2 separate regions of the Homo sapiens genome follow, and region 2 is linked to region 1. Evidence: promoter capture Hi-C in 16 types of primary human blood cells and fetal thymus (Javierre and others, 2016). All regions are on one chromosome and are shown on one strand. Each heading gives the region's core, a stretch centred on a gene start or on the middle of the fragment in contact. The rest is flanking DNA. Distances are from core to core; before and after follow the strand shown. Region 1 holds the start of XIRP1 (xin actin binding repeat containing 1). Region 2 overlaps WDR48 (WD repeat domain 48).

The links. The method cuts DNA at HindIII sites, captures the fragments that hold promoters and counts their contacts. A CHiCAGO score of 5 or more calls a contact.
Region 2: a contact is called between a fragment that was not itself captured here and the fragment with the promoter of XIRP1 in region 1, in 1 of 17 cell types (activated CD4 T cells). The highest score is 5.2, in activated CD4 T cells.

Annotation. Positions count from the first base shown.
Region 1 is chr3:39,190,933-39,195,766 of GRCh38, reverse strand. XIRP1 (xin actin binding repeat containing 1) reads left to right here and starts at 3,172. Exons shown (of 2, transcript NM_194293.4): 1 at 3,172-3,321. RefSeq lists an enhancer at 3,412-4,401. The HindIII fragment of the contact is 686 bases long and covers 2,982-3,667 here.
Region 2 is chr3:39,068,290-39,072,975 of GRCh38, reverse strand. WDR48 (WD repeat domain 48) reads right to left here. Exons shown (of 19, transcript NM_020839.4): 6 at 4,117-4,205; 7 at 3,232-3,333. Among named protein-coding and RNA genes, the nearest start is that of WDR48, 19 kb to the right of the region's middle. The HindIII fragment of the contact is 3,091 bases long and covers 1-2,936 here.

The sequences.
Region 1 (4,834 bases), core at 1,923-4,422:
GGATAGATCAAATAAGGCAACTGTATAACTGTAACCAATCAAATATTATATTTGCTTTACTTCTGTATCTGTCTTATAAAAACCTCCCGCTTGTGCTCCCTCAGTAGAGTTCCCAAGCCACTTCTGGTTTGGGACTGCCTGATTCAAAAATTGTTGTTTGCACAAATAAACTCTTAAAAAATTTATTGTGCCTCAGTTTACCTTCTTAATACCACTAAAGATACTCCAGTAAATAATGCCTAGTTTACTATCTTGACAGCCTCATAATTAATACCATGATGATGTGATATCATTAGATCATTACACATAGAGTGACTAGCTTGTCCTGGTTTTGTTAGAACTTTTCCAGTTTTAAAACTGAACATCCCTTGTCTTGCAAAACTCCTCAGAGACAGACAACAAAAAGTTGGTCACCCTCATTACACAGGATTTGGACCATAAAGTCTACTTGCTAGGTTAAAAATTTAGCTCTGAGTTTCCTAGCAGCCAAGTCAAAGAGAAACACCATATGTCATAAAAATTGTTTATTCTATTGACAATTCTCCTTCCAGAAAAATTTATTTTCTTATTTATTTTAACATCTATAACAGCACTATCCGTAGAACTTTCTGAAATAATGCAAACATTCTGCACTATTCAATATAATAGTTTCAGGCTGGGTGCGGTGGCTCATGCCTGTAATCCCAGCACTTTGGGAGGCGGAGGCAGGTGGATCACCTGAGGTCAGGAGTTTGAGACCAGCCTGGGCAACATGGTGAAACCCCATCTCTACTAAAAATACAAAAATTAGCTGGGCACGGTGGCACACACCTGTAATCCCAGCTACTCGGGTGGCTAAGGCAGTAGAATCGCTTGAACCCGGGAGGTGGAGGTTGCAGTGAGCCGAGATCGCGCCACTGCACTCCAGCCTGGGCGACAGAGCGAAACTCCGTCTCAAAAACAAACAAGCAAACAAAATCAATATAATAGTTGCTAGCCACTTGTCTCTATGGAGCACTTCAAATATGGCTAGTGTAGTGAAATAACTGAGTTTTTATTTTATTTCATTTTAATGTACTTAAATTTAAATAGCCTCATTTGGCTAGTGGCAACTCTATTGGACAGCACAGCTGTACTAGATACAAAGAAACCAAGTGCTCAGGAAGAGCCTCTTTCCTAATATTGAGGCCTGAGGAATTTCTCCCATGAGTTATCACAGGAGGTGAGTACAAAAGTGAGTTCCACCTAGGGGCTTTTCTCTTTTTATATTATATACAGTATAATAGCTGGCTCTTCTAAAGCATAGGCTATGTGCTAAGTACTCTCAGGCACTTTTTTTTTTTTTTGAGACAGAGTCTTGCTCTATCGCCCAGGCTGGAGTGCAGGGGTGCGATCCCAGCTCACTGCATCTTCTGCCTCCCAGATTCAATTTTCCTGCCTCAGCCTCCCAAGTAGTTGGGATTACAGGTGTGTGCCACCACACCCAGCTAATTTTTTATATTTTTAGTAGAGACAAGGTTTCACCATGTTGGTCAGGCTGGTCTCGAACTCCTGACCTCAAGTGATCCACCAGCCTCAGCCTGCCGAAATGTGCTGAGATTACAGGCGTGAGCCACCGTGCCTGGCTGGAGGCACTCTTTTCATATAATAATTCCTTCAATTCTCAAAACTATCCTAGAAAGTAAGAAATTTCAGTACCCACAGGGAGAAAGCTCCTCCCAGGAGAAATCCTGAGAAACCTAAGGCTGCCCTTTCCCTGAAACACTGGTACATCGGTCTCCCTGCCCTTCCTAGAGAGAGCCAGGAGCCTGGGGGACAGGCAGAGGGCTAGAAAAGAGCAGGGGAAGAGACAAGAGGGAGGGAGACCAGGAAGAGGGGGTTCCCAGATGTCCTTACCCCCATCCCAGCTGACGCTGCAGGACTGACATTGACTACATGGAAAAAGTGAGCAATGTCTGGCATCACCCCCTGGTACCAGAGGGCATTTGGGGAGTCAGAAGGAAGACCTCATGTGCCAGGCCACAGAATGCACCTGCATACCCACAGGCATGGAGCCTGGGCCAGGCCCACCTAGGACAAAACACCTCTTTCGAGTTTTTTGCAGATGGTCCCCTGACATCCTTCACCACACTGGTCTGACTGCCAGGATCTCTTGGGCCTCCTGGGCCCCTCACGCCCTGGTAAGCAAAGGAGGAGGCAGGTGTGACCCCCCCACCCCCGCCGCCACTCCATCTGTGACTGGGAAGCTGATGACTCCAGGGTCAGAAATAACCCCACGGTCAGCTCCCTGCATGCCGCCCTTCCCCTCCCCTCCATTCCCAGAAAGCCTGGGCCCTGAGTCAGAGGGAAGAGTCGAGAAGAAAGGACTCAGATAATCTGGAATGAAAACCATAGAGTCCTGCTGTGGAATTCATTCATTGGGAGGCCGAGGCAGGTGGATTACCTGAGGTCAGGAGTTCGAGACCAGCCTGGCCAACATGGTGAAACCCCATCTCTACTAAAAATACAAAAATTAACTGGGTGTAGTGGTGCAAAGGAGGAGCTGGGCCTGGCCAATCTCGGCCCAGTGAAGAGCTGGGCCTGGTCATTCAGATGTCTTCCCCCCAAATCCAGCTTCATCGGGGCTGTGTTGACCTGTGCTGTGGGGCACAGGGTGGAATGGATAAGAAAGAAGGAACTCTTTAGTGCAGAAGGGAATGGGGAAGAAAGAGAGCTGAGCATCACACTCAGAGGTATCCAGGCTCAGAACAGAGGAGGAGGTGCCCAGCCTGCCCTCAGGAGACCTCCAGTCTCCTGGCACGGTGGGTGGAGACACGTCAGGAAGAGTCAGAGGCAGGGCCAGAGTAGAATGATGGGGGCTCACAAGACGGGAGCAAGCTGTCCAAGGTGTCAGATGCCTCTTCTTAGTCACTCTCTCAAAATAGTCTGGGACACCCCCAACCTCACAACCCAGCTGAGTCACTGACCCCAATCCCCAGATCAGACTTTGGATGAATGAAGCTTCTCCCCCTCTGTTTCCCCTCCCCAGCCCAAAGGACATGTAACTGATTCCCCAGGATGGAAGAGTGACTTCCACAAGACCTAAAAATAACCGAACCACTTAATACTCGGAACATAGCCTCTCCCACCCGCCCCCACCACGGCCCACCCACTAGCCAGCAAGATAAAGGCAGCTGCTGGGGCTGGCAGGGGACAGAGACCTGGAGCCAGGGCAGCAAGAAGGTGTCTGTTGGAGCCAGCAGAACAGAACCAATTTGAACAAGAACCTCCAGAGGAACGACGAACCCTGAGACCACAGCTGCTACAGACCACAAACACCCCATCAGCCAAGAGAGACCCTTGGTGAGTAACCTACCTCTCCATCCTTCCACAGCAAGGCTGGCTTTCACAGCTGGGATCCCCTCTCCTTCTGAAATGGACGTATTAGGAATGGCTCTGAGTAGGGGAAGGAGATTGAGGGGCATGCATGGGAGGAGGTGAGTGGAAGTCTCAGACATAAAGAACCCACAAAGGAGGTAAAGACAGTGTGAGCCCCATGGGAGCTCTCAGAGTGGCTGCCACAGGCCTGAAGCTAGCAGAAAGGATAGGCTCCTGCCAGGCTGGCATGATCCAGAAAGGCCTGGAGTTGTGATTTTTAAAATACAGGTATGGAGTGCCTCAGGCTTCAGGGCTTCCTCCCAGGGAAGCTTCAGGCAGGCCCAGGATCTGGAGGAAGGAGGAACAGGAGAGAGGTGGGGGCAGGGGGCTGTAAGTAGGCCTGAGTGTGCATTGCTAGAACAAGCCCCATGCCTAGTTGTTGTGGATGACACTCTTGGCATATCTGGCCCAGGGATAGCTCCCAGGGGCTGGCCGGAGCCCAGCTCCCTACATATCATAGCCTAAAACCTGGGGTGGAATTCGGACTCTGCCCATGTCCATAGTCTTGCCCAGTGGGAAAGCCCCCAGGGCAGATTTGGGGGGCTCACGGGAGGGAGACCAGATCTGAATTTGCCCAGATGTAAAGACATATGGAGCCAGCTGGGCCAAGGAGGAGGTGACCCGAGGACAGCAGGGGGACCATCCTGAGAGGCTGGCCCAGCCCTAGGAGACCAAGCTCTAGGACAGTTCTTGGGGCTCACCCCACGTAAGTCTGGTCCCAGTTATGAATTCTGTCCTGACTCTACACTTGTCCCAGCAGTCTCAAGCCAGGCAAAGATGGTGGTGGGAAGGCCAGGAGTCAGGAGACATGCTTCAGGCTTTGCTACTGCCTTGCTGAGCCTCCTTGGACAGCTCCTTTCCCCTCTTTGGGCCTCTGTTTCCCTATTTGAACAATAAGGGGTTTAGATTGAGTGACCTCTGAGGGTCCTTAGGCCTGACATCCCTGGACTCCATGATAATAACTGTCTGTGGCCTTAGCAGAGATTCTGGAAATTCCTGGGGGCGGGGGTGGGGTGAAGCTGATGGTGTGCACACACCATCTGCTCAGGCCACCCTGGTGGTGACAGGATGGAGTAGAGGTGGAGACAGGCTCAGGTTTGCCTTGGGCAGGGGATCCTCATTGGAGCTCAGAAATGAAAGAAAACCACCCAGAGCTTTGATGAGACTCAGGCTGCAGGTTTCAGAGCTCACATTCCCCAAAGGTTCTGATGTCTTTGGTGGACATGCCAGGGTGGGCATGGGGTCAGCAGGTCTCAGTTTCCTCTCTCCTCCTTCTGAGGTAGCCATAGGGAGGAAGTCCTGCCCCACTTACTTCCAGTACCTCCCCCCAGTGCAGACTCCTTTGGCCAGGGAAGGTGTCCAGGTTCTAGCACCTGGCTGGCCTGCAGCCCAGGGGCCTGACACCAGCCCAGGAGGCAGGATAGGGGAGCCCAGGCTA
Region 2 (4,686 bases), core at 142-2,641, 120 kb after region 1:
AGCAGATAAGGAAACACAGTTTTATCAACCCTGATATAGAACGCCAAGTAATCTCTGATGGTAATCAGTATTCTAAGACTACGGAAAAGCAGATCCCCCAACAAAGCAACCACTTTAAAAGTATTATGTTGGCCAACTTCTTCGCAGCATTTGGTAGTATAATTAAAGAATGTCCTGTTTTATAGGAATTATAGTGCCTGAGATCTTGTAGGAGCTGGAGGAGTCATCAAAACATTTCCACTGCCTCCATCCTTCCACTAGAAAAACATAGATAAACATGAAGATGTTCATTATGAGGTAACTCCTGGGACTAGGACAGAATGTCCTTCAATGATTCTGCTAAATCAGATTTAGTGGAATAGTCTGTAGCCCTAATCAGGTGCTCTTTGTTTCTGCCAATGAAGATAGGAAGTACCAGTGTACTGAGGCCAAGTTGCTGCTGACCAACAGGAGTGTTCCCGGGATGGTCACTAACACACAATCTCAAGTGCCAACAGAGATCAGCCAAGTGGACGACATAAGCTGGGGCAATAAGTGGCCTGATGCTCTGAGACCCTCAGACCCATAAGCTAGGATCAGCAGACTTGTATTACCAAAAGAACCCTTTGAGTGACATACAAGGACATGACTGACTCAAATCAAGATGGCAGGTTGTCCCAGCTCCTCAAGCAATGAATTGCCTAAGTAAAAGGAATAAAAAGATAGGTGGCTCTGCCCAATAATGTTAGCACCAATCAAAGCAACTGCAATGCTGATCTCTTTACAGGCAGAACTCCCTTAGGGAGAACCTCAAATAAATTTGGTAAATAAGAATCTTATTCTACAACAAAAGAATCAGGCAACAGGTAGATATTCATGGGATTCATTGGCCTATAAGATATGTATCTTACTGCCAATTCCTGATTTACAAAGCCACCAGGTACCCTATATTACAAGCTCACAGGGCAATTTAGCAGGATGCAATATAAACTTTGGCCCAGTAACTGATAACCACCTCTTCCATATTACAAGAATTCAAGAATCTGTAAGTAGAAGTTTCTTTTTTCCTCACCTCATTTTTCCAAATAAGTAATTATAGTTTTTTGTTGGTCAATTCATTAATCAGTAAGAGTTTCTTTTTTTCTCATCTCTTTTTCCCAAATAAGCAGTTATTATAGTTTTTTGTTGATCAATTCACTAACGTAAATATGCTTGGTTGTTGGTGGTAATTTTACATTTAGTCCATAGTTGCCAATAAGGAAAATGGGTGGAAGAGAAACTAGATGAAGAGTGATACCTATCAAGTTTGCACTCTGAGACTAACAGGCAGTTTTTAAAGTAGAACCACAATATTTCCTCTGCTTACAATGACTGTAGCTGACTTCAGATGAAGTGCATTTCTAACTGTACACGTGATACTTAAATCATCTTTTATAGAAGCACATTCATAATTGCATAGATAGGAAACAAGAGATGGAGCAGACAGGTAGAGCTTTAGAAGGTCTGCCAGGCCCATAGCCCCCTTCTGGAAACCATGGAGATGATATGATCCCGCCCAATCCTGGCAAAGCTAACTGAAGAGACACGGGCAACCATCTCAAGTGCAGCCTTGCAGCTACACTGCAAAACAGTGAGGAGCTGACTGCACTGGGTAATTCTTACAGTCATGTGAAAATGAGGCCACAAAGGAACTTGAGAGCTCTAGGAAATGCCCTGGCTTACAGTTAAGAAAATACTTATTATTAACACATATATATACATATACACACACTCTCACCAACTATATAAACTATATATTATGATTCTCACTTTGCAGATAAGCAAATTAAGGACTAAAGTGAAATCCTATCCTGTATGTTTATTGCGGCACTATTCACAATAGCAAATACTTGGAACCAGCCCAAATATCCAACAATGATAGACTGGATTAAGAAAATGTGGCACATATACACCATGGAATACGATGCAGCCATAAAAAATGATGAGTTCATGTCCTTTGTAGGGACATGGATGAAATTGGAAATCATCATTCTCAGTAAACTATCGCAAGAACAAAAAACCAAACACCGCATATTCTCACTCATAGGTGGGAACTGAACAATAAGAACACATGGACACAGGAAGGGGAACATCACACTCTGGGGACTGTTGTGGGGGTGGGGGGATAGCATTGGGAGATATACCTAATGCTAGATGACAAGTTAGTGGGTGCAGCGCACCAGCATGGCACATGTACACATATGTAACTAACCTGCACATTGTGCACATGTACCCTAAAACTTAAAGTATTAAAAAAAAAAAAAAAAAAAGATCCTTCACATCTCCAAATACCTCCACAGGTATCTTTAAATCTTTCTTCTCCTGGTTCTGAAAAATGATTTCCTTCCTTAGACTAGTTTCCAAACCTTCTGTTCATTTCTGGAGGCGACGGCTTCTCTGATTGATGTCTAAAGCAATTTCTTAGACGTGAAATTTTAGCAATTTCATGTCTAAAGTCTTAACTTCCACAGGAAAAGAAACTGATGGTGTTTCTCACCTCATCATCTTTCTACCTGCCCTTTTCTAACCCTATCACAATCAATTCCAGTTATCTCTGACTTATCACTGCATTCTGGAAAAAAAATGGCTGAGTCAAGGGTACATGGTAGACATATGTCATACCCATAAAATGATGCTCAGTTTTTGTTTTTTATTATCTACATTGATGAAAAAGTATTTTCCATTGCTACAGAACAGAATTGTGATTTATAATTCACAAATTACGTGGCCAACAGAGCTAATGTATAACATTACCAAAATGTTTTTCTTTGAAATGTTCACTCTGAGCATTATGTTAGAAAACTAAATTTATCAACTATATCTACATAGTCAACTGACAAAATGTGCCCCTAAGTCAGACCCACTGTGAGCAAATTTTCCACTTAATACACTGGCAAAAAGCATTTGATATCAAAGCTTCCTTTTGCTTTACACAGGTAATGTTTTTAGTTATTTTAGCCCCTATGCACCATAAATGCATATACTCATCTGCATCAGAATTATTCTAAGGAAATTCTTTGTTTTGTTAAAAGTGATGCAAATAGAATAGTTTTTAAATGTAGCTTATATGTGCAATTTAGTATTTTAAAATTTTTTAATTAGACAATTTATAATAAGTGTGGCTTTCGGTTCAAATCAACCTATGCAATAGTATACAAAGTGCGGAAATTTCTAACAAGGTTATTAGGTAAACACCCAAATGAAACTGCATACTTGCGTGCCATCTCTGTTTAATAGCAATGCCTTCACATTATCCGTGTGCCCTTTAAGCTTCATTAGTTTTGCACATGTTCTTGGATCCCATACCCGTAACACCTGTGAATTTTAATAGAGTATTACACAAACTAAATATATCAGTATCAAATTTAAATAACAGACAACTCTCATAAGTCAAATGATAACCATTATATTCTGAGAAGGCAATACCACTTCTGCCAATGGACACTGTCTAAGCCTCCCAACCTCAGGGAATTAGGCCTTTCAAACATCAAAAATGCACAGCCTCTTTATCTTGTCACTATACACACAACAGTTATAGTTATACTCTTACTTATTCAAATAAAACCTTTTGTTTAGCACCCACTAGGCAAAACCACTGTCCATATATTTAATAATTACACAGATTAAATTATTTTGGTTTCTTTATTTTCTAATGTTCAAACCACCCTTTAAGCTCCCCCGATTGGGGCACAGTGGCTCTCATGCCTGTAATCTCAGCACTCTGGGAGGCCAAGGCAGGTGAATTGCTTGCACTAAGGAGTTGGAGGGACAACATGGCGAAACCCTGTCTCTATTAAAAATATACAAAAATTAGCCAGATGGGACAAGGAGTGGCCTGATGCACGTGATGGTGTGTGCCTGGGGTCCCAGCTACTCAGGAGATTGAGGTGGAAGGATCGCTACAGCCTCAGCAGTCAAGGCTGCAGTGAGCCAGGATCATGATGCCACTGCACCCCAACCTGGGTGACAGAGTGAGACCCAGTCTCTAAATAAATAAATATAAAGAAGCTAATCGTAAAATACCTGCTTAAAAAATAGGAGACAAGGTATGTGAAAAATAATTTTTTTTTTTAAATAAAGAAATAAGCTCCTCCTTACCTTTTCAGTGGACCCTGATACAATGATTGTTCCCAGTTGATTCATGGCCAGGCTATAAATGGAATCTTTGTTTCCACTTAAAGAAGAAGCTATTGAGGATAAACGGAGCTAAATGTTAACAAGATCATCAGCTGTTTAGTAACTAGTCAGCAAAAACTGCAAGTTTATTCAATTTAGAAAATCTTATCTTTATAAGTCCTCTACGGAAAAGAAATCTACCTATAATGGAGATAAATCTAAACAGTATTATTATCAAAATTTACATATTTTCTGGATTTGAATATATACAAATGCTCAATATCTGATAAACTGCAGTGCCATTGAAAAGCTATCCGCTTAAATGATATGTTTAAAGCTATTCATGTGCCATAAATATGAAAAAATGTTCAATTTCAGTATTTTTCAAACACAAATCAAACCAAAAACACTGTTTCATACACCAAGACAAAAAACAAGGTAATACTTGATTGTAAAAAGAAAACAGTACAATGGAACTCTCATATATTACTTATGTGAAGATAAATAGGTACAACCTTTCAGGAAGGAATTCAGACTATAGCAAAAATCATG